Linked DNA regions of Homo sapiens: regions 2 and 3 are each linked to region 1. The links are contacts of gene promoters, found by promoter capture Hi-C in blood cells and fetal thymus (Javierre and others, 2016). All regions are on one chromosome and are shown on one strand. Each heading gives the region's core, a stretch centred on a gene start or on the middle of the fragment in contact. The rest is flanking DNA. Distances are from core to core; before and after follow the strand shown.

What was found. Contacts are between HindIII fragments. The CHiCAGO score rates a contact against its expected background, and 5 or more counts as called.
Region 2: a contact is called between a fragment that was not itself captured here and the fragment with the promoter of MAP2K3 in region 1, in 1 of 17 cell types (neutrophils). The highest score is 5.4, in neutrophils.
Region 3: a fragment that was not itself captured here is called in contact with the fragment with the promoter of MAP2K3 in region 1 in 2 of 17 cell types (total CD8 T cells and naive CD4 T cells); the score reaches 5.7 in total CD8 T cells.

What each region holds. Positions count from the first base shown.
Region 1 is chr17:21,282,588-21,286,657 of GRCh38, forward strand. It overlaps MAP2K3 (mitogen-activated protein kinase kinase 3), which reads left to right and starts at 2,124. Exons shown (of 12, transcript NM_145109.3): 1 at 2,124-2,382. The coding sequence starts at 2,334. RefSeq lists enhancers at 1,196-1,696, 3,773-3,832 and a silencer at 1,583-2,112. The HindIII fragment of the contact is 5,771 bases long and covers 1-3,103 here.
Region 2 is chr17:21,009,073-21,013,142 of GRCh38, forward strand. It overlaps USP22 (ubiquitin specific peptidase 22), which reads right to left. Exons shown (of 13, transcript NM_015276.2): 7 at 3,758-3,863; 8 at 2,079-2,237. Among named protein-coding and RNA genes, the nearest start is that of USP22, 32 kb to the right of the region's middle. The HindIII fragment of the contact is 2,966 bases long and covers 528-3,493 here.
Region 3 is chr17:21,546,471-21,550,540 of GRCh38, forward strand. All of the region lies in intron 1 of LINC02693 (long intergenic non-protein coding RNA 2693), which reads right to left. Among named protein-coding and RNA genes, the nearest start is that of LINC02693, 3.2 kb to the right of the region's middle. The HindIII fragment of the contact is 1,002 bases long and covers 1,587-2,588 here.

The sequences.
Region 1 (4,070 bases), core at 874-3,373:
CTATGTGCCTGGTTCTGGGCTATGCATTGGGAACACAGCAGGGAATGAGGCTCGGATGGTCTGGAGGGAGAGCTGTGTTAAAAACTGAGTCAGTAACAAAGACATCAGCAGCATAAGTGTTGTGCCTCAGTCTGGGGACCATGATGAGAAGGCCTCTTAGGGGTGTTCATTTAGGAAGCGGTCTGAGGGATGAGAGGGAACCAGCCCCAGGAGGCTTGAGTGGAAGAATGTTCTGGGCAGGAGCAGCAAGGGTGAAGCTGCTGCGGCAGGACCATCCCTGGCACATTTGAGGGGCAATACTGAGACTCTTGAACATCCCAAGAAGCAGAGTGCACAAGGCGGAGTGTGGCCTTGTGCAGAAGTCAAGGCTGTTGGCCAGTGCCTGAACCCAGAAAACTCGCTGGACTAGCCTTGCAGTTCTGGTAGAAAGGAAGCTGCTCCTGGATGCCCATTTTACAGACGGATAAGCACAGGTCACCAGGGATGATATGGCAAGGATGGAGGCAGCCCACAGTGTTTTCAAACTCACATTTCCTGGGCACCTAGTGAGTGCCAAGCCCTAGGCCAGGTGTTTCCACTCCTGAACTCATGAAACGCTTTCAGAGACCTTATTGTCCCCATGGGATAGGTAAACTGAGGCACAGAGCTGCTCAGTGACTTCTTTAAGGTCATCCAGCTAGTAAGTGGAGGAATTGGTATTGGAACCCATACCTATCTGAGCCCCAGACTCATGATTTTCCATCCCACTGCCTGGGAAGGGTGAACAGGAGACGCAGGAAGAGAATGGTGATGGCTGCAAGGCTTCCCTCTTATCTCCTGTGGCTCCCCACTCTGTGCATGGGGCCCTGCATCACCCCCACTTTACACCTGGGCAAGCAGAGGTCAGGCCCGGCCTCAAGCCTTTCTAGCAGGTGGTGGAATCTGCTTCCCTCACGTGAGGTCCCTGACAGGGTACACATGTCTGCCTGGAGGCCAGGGGCTGACCCCTTGACCTTTGCCTGGTACATTCTGCCTTCACTAGCCCTGGCTTTACATCCAGAGTCATCTGTTCCCAGCGCCAGATTGGTCAGCGGTTCCTGAAATCCCCCGAGGTTCCGTGTGGGAGCAGAGGGAGGACTGGCCCATCCAGCCATTATGCAGATGGGCAGACTGAGATCCTAGGAGGAGAGGAGAGAACGAAGGTCCAGGAGAGAGCCAGGATGGGGCCTCGGGGCTCGCGGGATAAAATGCACCGCATGCCGCCTCACTCCCTCTGAGACACGGTTTCCCCCTGTGTAGAACAGGGGCAGCAGTAACCAGCCACGAAAACTCCTCGTGCTGCCTCGTCACCGGGCATCGCTGAGCTCACCACCGACCCCGCGCCCTGGCCGGGCGCCTGGAGCGCGGGCGCGGGCGACGTTTGCTGGCGCCAGGCCCTCAGTGCGTGTTAGCGAGCAGCGCCGGGAGATAGCTGTCACCGCCGCCCGCTCACAGATGCGTAGACTGAGGCTCAGGTGTCACCACCTGACCAAGGCTAGTTCCGCTACAAAGCTGCCGACTCGGATCCGAACCCGGGTCCAATTTACAGAAAAGGAAACTGAGGCCCAGAGACACTAGGGAGCTTGCTAGGGTGAGGCAGCTGCAGGTTCAGAGAGCCAGGAGGCAGCCCAGCAGCGCACTTTTAACCCCCGCCCACTTCGGCAGGCCCAGCCGTGCCACCTTTAGGGATCTCGGGTTTTTTCCAGACGACGCACCCAGGAGAACGCGCCCGCGCATCGCACCCGCCGGGGCTGCGGGTCTGGGGGTGCCGGGCTGGGCCTGGGCGCCTGCAGGGAGCAGCGGGCTCAGTGGGTCCCGGGAGTGGGTGGGGCTTGCATGTTGACGGGCAGCGCGAGGGGCGCGGCTTTAGTCCAGGGGGCGGAGCCTGACCGGACCTGGGTTTTTCGGGCGGCTGGCGGACTTGACAGAGAGCGGGAGGGGCCCGGATCCTGGGCCTAAGGAGGGTGGGGCGTGTGCTTGACAGGCAGGGACAGGCCGGCGTCTGATAGGCAGAGGACGGGCCTTGGAAACGAAAGGACCAATCGGGCACGCAGGGGCGGGGCCTGAGTCAGCGCAGTTCGGCCGGGGTCTCCCCGGCGCTGCCCAGTCTGTCTCCGGCGCCGCCCGTCGCGGACTCGTCCTTGCTGCAGTCGCCGCCGCAGTCCTCGCCGCAGTCGCCGCCGCCGCCGCCGCCGCCGCCGCTGCTCCTCCGCCTGGCCTGGGCCGTCTGCCCGCAGCCATGAGCGTGCTCGGCCCCGGTGGAGCCCGCAGTCCTCTAGATTAGTCTCCACCGCCGTCCAGGACCCACTTGCAGCATGGAGTCGCCCGCCTCGAGCCAGCCCGCCAGCATGCCCCAGTCCAAAGGTAGGCGCTCCCGGCCGGGACCTCGGCCTGACCCCGCGCCTAATCTGGGGCCGGGCTGCAAACCCCGACCTTTCTTTGGTCCCACCCCATCCTGTTCTCGACCTGGCAGCGGCGTCCGGTCCCGGAACCCCTTCCTGTTCGGGGTCCCGGGACCAGCCCCCGCCTGGGCCCTCACCTGGACCCCCACGTTAGGCCTTGGGACTGCACTCAGGCCCGAGATCACCCAGGCTGGACCCAGACTAGGACTTTGTTCTGCTCACCCCATCCAAGTCAGGAGCCTCATTCTGACCTCATTTGGGCCTTATGGCTGCAGCCTGGACATGAACTCTCCCAGTCTTCTCCCTCAGCGGGACCCAGGTGAGATTCACACTGGCCTTCACCTGGGTCCTTGGGCAGCACCCAGTCCCATTTCTAGCTTCGGGTCCCAGGGCTGTATCCAGGTTGGGATTTAACTTGAGTCTCCATCTGGGCCCCAGAGTGCTCCTGTTGTTGCGGACCTCACTGTACCCCCTATGCGGGTGCTCTGGCTACACCCCAGCTCGGAACTCCCCGTCCTTCTCTCCCCCAGCTCTTCTTATCCTTATAGGCCCTATGTTGCCCCTTCCCTGGCTGGCCTGCACCCTGTCCTGCAGCCCTGGGCTCCCAGGAACCTTCCTTGTCCTCCCACCCCTCCCTAAGGTACAGCCCCCTCTCTACCGGCCTCTCTCTGTCTTGAGTTGCAAGCTTCTCCCTGCACTGGGGGTTCTCACCCCATCTTATTCTTGTCCTGGCTGCCTGGGATCTGGGCCAGCCGCCAGGCCAGGGTGCTGGCTGTGCAAGGGATTTGCTCTTCTCCAAGTAGCTGGCCTTCCTGGAAATTTTTGTGAGGTGGCAGCAGCAGGATTTGTCATGCGGAGGGGGAAGGATGAAACTCGGAGGGCAAAAGGGGAATTTTTTTTTTTTCAGGAAGAGGAAAGGATGTTTTTGGTGCGTCGGAGTTTCAGTAGGCTGGGTTGTGCGAGAGATTTCCAAACCGGACATAGCCGTAATGAATGGGCTGCCTCCTGGCTTTCTGAACCTGCAGCTGCTTCACCCCAGCAAGCTCCCTGGTGTCTCTGGGCCTCAGTTTCCTTTTCTGTAAATTGGAAGTAATCGCACCTGCTTCTGTGGACGTGGGAGTGTGGTGTGGGGTGGTGAATAGTAAAGAGCTCTGAGGCGTTCTCTCAGCGTAGCACCTGGCGCAGAGCCGGTGCTCACCAGGGTACACTGGCTGCACACATCTCGCTATTGTTTCCATTCTTCTTGCTGGAAAGGCCTCCACTGCTGGAAGTGCAGCCTCAGAGTGAGCAGGAGGAAGCACCTAGCAGCGGGCACCTAGTGGGCACTTCATCAGGGGTCAGCCGCTCTTCTGTTCTGGAGGGTGCAGGCCAATGGGAGCCCTATGTGGGCCTGGGGAGGGCATGGGCTCTTCCTGGCCCCTGCTGCTGGCTGCTATGGTGGCTGGAGCCGGGTGGGCTGGATAATTATGCCTTACATAAGTGGGAGGCCGGATCCCTGACCATTGCCCAACCACTGTGAGTAACTCGGGAGGCACTCGACGGGGGAGGTGTCTGGGGAGGGACTTGCACTGCACAGACCTCGTGGAGCTTGGGAACCAGGAAATCAGACACTTCTCCACTCTGGAGAGCTCGGGGAAGGGTAGGAAGCAC
Region 2 (4,070 bases), core at 761-3,260, 270 kb before region 1:
AAGAGCAAGACTCCATTTCAAAAAAAAAAAAAAAAAAAAAAAAAGGCAAGAGGACTGGGAAAGGTAATTTCCTGACCGTGCAGAGGCAGGAGGTAGGAGGGCTGCATCAGAAGCGTGTCTGGCACAGGTGTCAGCTGCCACTGACAAAACCTGCAGAACAGATGATTCAACAAAGCACACGCCAAATTTTGAAGCTGAAACACCAGCAAAAAATTCACTCTTTTCACAAGCAGGTATGGAAAGCCCTTATTTATGCTCTGGAAATTCTGCCATCTTAACTAGGGCAAGACGAGGGGGCCTCTGGGCAAAGCTGCACCTGTTTCGTTGCTAGCTTTGTGATCTGCTCTCCAAAGGACTCGAAAAGGAGCCTTTGCTTGCAATACAAAGTGGGGACCCGGGTGCACTCTACCTCTCCTCCACCTTCCCGGGAGTCAGCACCACATCATGTCTCTCCTAACAACACAGGCTTCCCACACATTGTAGTTTGTGAAGTGTGGTTTCTACCTCATGGCCTGCTGTTTTGGCAAAGCTTTCATTTTATTGGAATTTATGATTAAATTTAATTTAGCTGCAAAGACTTTCTTTAAAAAGGTTTTGGTTGGCCGGGCATGCTGGCTCACACCTGTAATCCCAGCACTTTGGGAGGCCAAGGCAGGCGGATCACCTAAGGTCAGGAGTTTGGGACTACCCTGGCCAATGTGGCGAAACCTAGTCTCTACTAAAAATACAAAAGTTAGCCGGATATGGTAGCAAGCACCTGTAATCCCAGCCACTCGGGAGGTTGAGGCCGGAGAATCACGTGAACCTGGGAGGTGGAGGTTGCAGTGAGCCAAGATCGCGCCACTGCACTCCAGCCTGCACTCTAGAAAGAGCGAGACTCCGTCTCAAAAAAAAAAAATTAAAAAAAAAAAAATCACAAAATCAGCTGGGCATGGTGGCACACACCTATAGTCCCAACTACTCAGGAGGCCGAGACAGGAGACCAAGGCTGAGCCCTGGACACTGAGGCTGAGCCCAGGAGATCGAGGTTGCAGTGAGCTATGATGGCACCACTGCACTCCAGCCTGCATGAAAGAGCAAGACCCTATCTCAAAAAACAAAATAAACATGCAACTTTGGTCGTGCTGACTATGCAGCCAGACAGAAACCAAAGGCTCGTACCTCTTCTAAGGGATACTTCCACTCAACAAGGACTCTTCTGCATTACCTTTAATTGATGCAAATAAAACAAAGGCTATAAAATAATAGACAAATTTTAGGAAGGTTTTCTGCTGTCTTTACAATTGTATGCTACAGCTACTTAAATACATTTTTTTTTAAAAATCACTCACAGGTGTGGTGGCTCATGCCTGTGAGCACTTTGGGAGGCCGAGGTGGGTGAATCACCTGATATCACGAGTTCGAGACTAGCCTGGCCAACATGGTAAAACCCCCGCTCTACTAAAAATACAAAAATTAGCCAGGCGTGGTGGTGCACACCTGTAGTCCCAGCTACTCAGGAGAATCACTTGAACCTGAAAGGCAGAGGCTGCAGTGAGCAGAAATCGCACCACTGCATTCCAGCCTGGTCGACAGAGCACAACTCTGTCTCAAAAAAAAAAAAAAAAATCACTTTGTAAATATTATTACTTATCCCAAATGAAGCAGTACATGCACAATTTCAAAAACAGCCCTAAGAGTACAGAACATCACAACTAAGTTTTAATCATGTGCAGAGAAGGCCGTGGACCATGGGGAGAGGCCCGGGCGCATCTCAGCTCACACTCCGGGGTAGGTGATTAGTGCAAGGGCTAAGGGAGCAGCCAGTTTGGCTCTGGGTTCATTTACATGCGGAGGTTGGAGTAGCAGCTGCTGACACTGACACCTGGTGCTGTGCGAAGCTGGGGGACAGAAATATTGAGTCATCTGGCCAAAACAAAGGACAAACTAGCACAAGAGACTGCAGCCAATCCAGGCTCATGCTGCACCTTTGCCCAGGCTCTGTCCTGGGCATGTGAAAGAGCCCTGCTTTGGTCCTGATGGAGCACAGCCTTCTGGCCAGGAGACACGCCCCCGCCGTGTGGGTGCAGGCCTCTCACCGTCGCAGGCAGTCCGTGAGCGTGGTGGTTCCCGACACGTGGCTTTCCCCGTTTACCACGTTGCCCTCGCTCCCTGGGCTCAGGGGCCAGAATGGGGTGGAAGAGCCGGGGAGATCCAAGCTGATGTCCCAGAAGGGGTCGATGGTGGTGGAGACTCCACTGGAAGCAGAGGGAAAACAATGGCTGTGAGGACTGACACCCACCCAGCTCCAGAGGCAACCCGGGGTGGAAGCCGTTCCCACATCCCTTCCCCGCTGTGCCCTTTGTCACAGTGACACTCAGGTGGGATGGGGCAGGAGCAAGAGCAGCAGTGCTCACACCCAACGTGTCCTGGCTCCCAAGGTGGCCCTGGGGAGGGGTGTGTGTGAACTCGGAAGGCGAGGGGCGCTCCTCAAGCAAGGACTTCCCAGTCTGGAGACCATCACAGTCACTGAGGGACTTGGGAGGAGGATAAACTCATGGGCCCTGTCAGAGGCTCTGAATCCACAGGTCTATCTCAGCTGCATCTAGAACTTGGGGCCTGTGACCCTAGGCAACACTGGAGACCCCTGCACATTTCACAGAGCGTGCCCAGGCCAGGCCCGGTGGCCTGCACTGGACAGTCAATGCTGCATTTCACAAGGCCAGTTCCTTGCTAGAAATTTATTTAACAATATAAAAAATGAAAACTTGCAGACTGGGAAATTTACTCTCGATATTTATACAGGATTTAAATCTTGAGACAATCTCCTACTAATGGAATTCAGTAGTTAAGGGACAGCGAGGAGGTCCAAATTGCTCAGAGCAAACTCGGTTTCTAATACTCAGAGACAAGGCCCCAAACGGTCTATGCTCCTTATAGAAAATGGCCCCCGTGACACAGGCAGCACTGGCCTTTCCCGATATTTGCTCGTCTTATGCAGTTTAGAAGTGACAGTCCATTTCGGGTTCTGAAATAATTTCGGTGGATCATGTCCAGGGTTTTTAAACTTCAACTGAAGTAAAGAACAGAGCCAGGCACGGTGGCCCATGCCTGTAGTCCCAGCTACTTGGGAGGCTAAGGAGGGAGGATCGCTTGAGCCCATGGGTTCAAGGCCAGCCTGGGCAACATACACAAGACCCCATGCCTGAAAAAAACAAAAACAAAAACAAAAAACCTGTAGCATGCACTGAGGTTGGGTGAGAGGGTCCCCTGACCTAACAAAGCAATGGATTCTCCCTGCACTCAACACTTGAGGCTCTAAGCAGAGACCACATCTGAGAAGAATTAGGGCCACTACATCAGAAAATGGAACCAGAAACCATAAAATAATGAAAACTAACACACTTCGAAGCACGTAGAAAAACAATCCACCATGCATGATCCACGCCTTCTTGAAGAGGGCTCTTTCACTTGGTCCCTGGTCAAGGACTGTAAGATGCAAAATGGTAGGGGAAGCTTCCAAGAACACACTGCTGGCTGTAGACAACAGCCAAGACCTCAACACGAAGGGCTCGCATCCCGAGGGGACACCTGCCCTACGACCTCCCCAAGAGGAAGCACCCCCACCCCACAACCTTCGCTCTCATGGCGTCTATTAATCATTTATCTCATAGCCTCCTTAAAGACCTCTCAGAGCACACACAGCTCTGGAGACTGGGAGGATGTCAGTACGGCCCCAGAGGGTTTGATATTGCCGAGCACGCAGCCTCTCACTTACTGGCAGACTTGGCAGGTGACGTCTGACTGCAACCCGCCTGTGAAGATCTGGTCTATGATGCAGTTGCAGTGGTTGGGGTTGTTGGCCTTCTTCCCATTGTCATCACCTGGAGACAGACCACGGCTCTGGGATTAGTGTCTCCCCAAATATGGGGAGTCTCTAAGGGAAGAGCAGTTCACCCTGCAGAAGCCTGGGGGAGCCAGGGCCAACGCTTTAAAAGGCCATGTGAGGACACTCCTCATTTTAGCAGAGGGTGTCCTTGTTATTTTAATATGACGAGAAATCACAGCACTTGGATTTTCAATGCTCCTTT
Region 3 (4,070 bases), core at 838-3,337, 260 kb after region 1:
AATCTATTGAGATGGAAACTAGATTTGTGATTGCTTACAGCTGGGGTAGGGGTGGGGGAACAGGGTGATAGCTAAAAGGTACAGGACTAATAAAAATGTTGTAAACTTAACCATGGTTTTGGTTGCACATATCTGTGATTATACTAAACCCTAGCAGATCATAAGGTATGTGAATTTTTCCTCAATAAAGCTGTTTAAAAATAAAAAAAAAATTAGGCTGGGCACAGCAACTTACCCTGTAATACCAGCACTTGGGGAGGCTGAGGCAGGAGGATTGTTTGAGGCTAGGAGTTCAAGACCAGCCTGGACAATAGAGTGAGACCCCATCTCTACAAAAGATTTAAAAAATTTAGCCAAGCATGGTGGTGCGCACTTGTAGTCCTAGGTACTTAGGAGGCTGATGTGGGAGGATCACTTGAGCCTGAGAGGTGAAGGCTGCAGTGAGCCGTGATCATGCTACTGCAATCCAGCCTGGGAGACAGAGAAACATCCCAACTCAAAAAAAAAATTATTACGAACTATTTTATACATACAAAATTACACAGACACACACACATACACAGACTCACATAAAAGTAAAATAAATACATTGTACCCATCACCTGCACCACTACATTTGAAGCCATCTGCATGGTTGGCCCTTCTGAAATGTAACCCCATCTGGGACAATCATTCATCTGAAGCTTTACAAAAAGTATTTCCCTGACTTTCATTATACTTTTATTACATAATAATATCTCTAAATAATATATTGTTTCTCTAAATAATATACTGTTTAACTTTGTAAGTTTTTACACTTTCTATAAATGTGCTGTGTATCTCTGTAACTTGCATTACTCATTCCACATTGTATTTTCGAGAGCCTTCTATGTTTTAAGTAGTTTCTCATTCAATTCTATATATTGCTTACTAATTAGCCTTTAAATTGAATATACTAAGACCTGCTGGAGAGAGAATTCTTGTGGGATAATGAGTATAAAGTGCTTAAAGCAGTGCCCCATTCATTATAGGTATTCAATATATGTAATACTATACACAATATTTTAATACTGAGTAATTATATACATATTATGATTGCTTGTTTCTTTGTGGATGTACATTATTTCATCAACTGCACTATGAACTAATAGTTTTCTTTCTTCTAGGGGAGGGGGCGGGGTCTGGCACTGTTGCCCAGGCTGAAGTACACTGGTGCGATCACGGCTCACTGCAGCCTAGACCTCCCGGGCTCAAGGATCCTCCCACCTCAGCCTCCTGAGTAGCTGTGTCTATCAGCAGTGCCACCACTCCCAGCTAATTTTTAAATTTTTTGTAGAGATGGGGTTTCACCATGTTGCCCAGGCTGGTCTCTAACTCCTAGCTCAAGTGATCTGCCCACCTTAACCTCCCAAAGTGCTGGGATTACCGCTGTAAGCCATTATGCTGGGCAAGAGTTTTCAAACTACGGTAAAATTCAAGTTACAGATACCTTTGGGAAATGCCTCATTCTAAGTATTTGAAGCTTCCAGATAGCTAAGATTAAAAATTTTTACATACTAACTTGTTTCTAAGTGTATGCTTTTACATTTAAACAAACTAAAAACATAAGCTTTATAAAAAAATTTCAGCCATTTCCAAATTCTCTTCCAAACTTGTTTAGAAACATACATGACAGAGCTTTGGTCGGATTGTGCAAACTGTTGTGTGTTCTGTTTTTAAAATATTACTTAACTTGTACACTTCCACACATTGGCATGGCACATCATTGCCATTTCCAATACGTTCCTGTGCTTCACCAATTTCCATAGCTGTCAGAGGGAGAGCAGCCCAGGTGACAGGAAATGAAGTTGTCTGGCTCCGAGTCCTTACTAGGAGGACTTCTGGGATCCAGAATCTTTGCATGGGGCAGATGACATATTCTTAGAGGCCATTCATTTTTTCCACTGTAGCTGCTAGTGCCAGTTTCCACTCCACTGCCTGAGGGCAGGTTGATCTTGTAAGCCATCACCGATGGATTTGTGGTCACTGCCTGGAACCCTGTGCCAAAGAGGACTGGGAGGTCCCATTCAGGAGGGAATCCTCTGACTTATTACTGGCATCTGAGCATCTCCCAGCATGGCTGTTCCTACTTGTAATAAGGTGATGTCAAATGACTCCAGGGCAGTGCTCCGGTTCCCATGAACACATCTGGTCACTCTGGGAGCTTTTGAGTCAGTGAGCTCTCTCCTCACATCCCGATACACTGTTGTTTGCAAAAATATATTTTTATAGGCAAGGTATTTGTGTTTTGGATTTGCACCCTGATGCAGGCATTAATTTGTTTAAAAGGATAATTTAACATTTTCAGGAAGCTGAACATCTTTAAATTCTCTTTTGATTATTTCTAGTTTTATTGCATTATGACCCAGAAATGTGTACAATTTTTGTTCTTGTATACTCACTAAGGATTCTTCTTGTTTTCAGAGTAGGACCAAAGGTATTTCTATTTGTTTGCAAGTCTGTTGGCTCAGTTTCTAAAGAGTTCATTTTGTTACCATGTTCTTTTAAGTATATACATACAGGTTAGTTACGTTTCCAGTTTCCTGTGCTTTTTATTTTTTTTTTAAACAAGCTTTTCTGGCCCTTCATTCTCTCAGACTTTTCCTTCCATGCCTTATGCTGTAGATAAAGTCTATGATCTAACGTCTGTCAGTTAAGATTGTTTTCAGCTCTGGAGACCAGAAAATCTGACCCACATAGCAAGAACAAGCAAGGGCAGGAGATGAGGCTGAAGAGGCAGGCACCAGGTTGTCTGAGCTTTTATTCTACTGCAATGAGTAGATAGTGGCAGGGTTTACACAGGGGTGGGGGTATGCCTATATCATGTTTTAACATTTTCAAGAGATCACTCTGGATGCTTGAGTGGAGGCTGGACTGTAGCAGGGCAAGACAAGATGCAGGGAGGTTGGAGGATTCTTGGCAGTAGCCCAGTAGGAGAGGAAGGTGACTGAAACTGGTTGTGGAAATGGAGATGGTGAATCAGGATGCTGGTTGCACTCAAGAGCCACAGGACTTGCTGTGTGGTTGCATGGGGGTTGGGGGAGAAGGGAAAAGAGTCAGGGATGACTCTTGGTGCTCCCCTCAGGGAAGAGGCCCCAAGCCTAGTGGTTATCAACAGATGGATGGTATTTAAAGCTATGAGACTGTGTGGGATCATTCTGAGAGGATCACTAGAGATCTGGTGGAGGAGGAGCAGGAGGATGAGGATAAAGGTGAGAGGGAATCCAGGAGGGAAGGTCCCTAAAATCCAGAAGAAAGGGTGGAACTCCTCAATTGTATCGTCTGTGTCAAATGCAGCTAAATGACTGAGATAAAAGTCGTTTCAGCAAAGTACCTTGGAGGAAAGCTGGAAAGGAGTGGGTGCAAGAGAGGACATGAGGTGAGGAAGTTGCATGGAGCAGAGAAACAGAATGGTAAATGGAGAGAAACCTGGGGTTAAAAAAGGTCTATTTGTTTAATGCACAGCATTAAGGAATGCTTGTGTGTGGACACTAGCAAAAAATCAGTACAGAGAACCCCAGAATTCTGGGGTCATAGCCCGAAAGGACTCCTCAGCTCCAAATTTACTTGAAGTTACAGCTTCCATCTTTAAATTAAATGGGATTTTTTTTTTTTTTGCCATCTATTTCATCATACAGGATGTGACACAGAATATATCTGAAAGTATAACTTTCCTGGAAGAACACATCTTAGTTTTTAATATCTAAACTGTATAGCAGCTATTTATCTCACAAAACATTTTTCAGGCTGAGTGCGGTTGGTGACTCACGCCTGTGATTCCAGCACTTTGGGAGGCCAAGGCAGGAAAATTGCTTGAGTCTAGAAGTTCGAGGCCAGCCTGGGCAATGTGGGGAGATGTAGTTTCTACAAAAAATTTAGAAATTAACAGGCATGGTGGCACAAACCTGTGGTCTCAGCTACTGGGGAGGCTGAAGCAGGTGGATCGCTGGAACCCCTTTCGTGGTGCAGTTTGGGCAAAAGAGCAAGAACCTGTCTCAAATTTTTTGGCTGATGGTTGTAGACATAATGTTTGAGCTTTCAAAAATTACAAC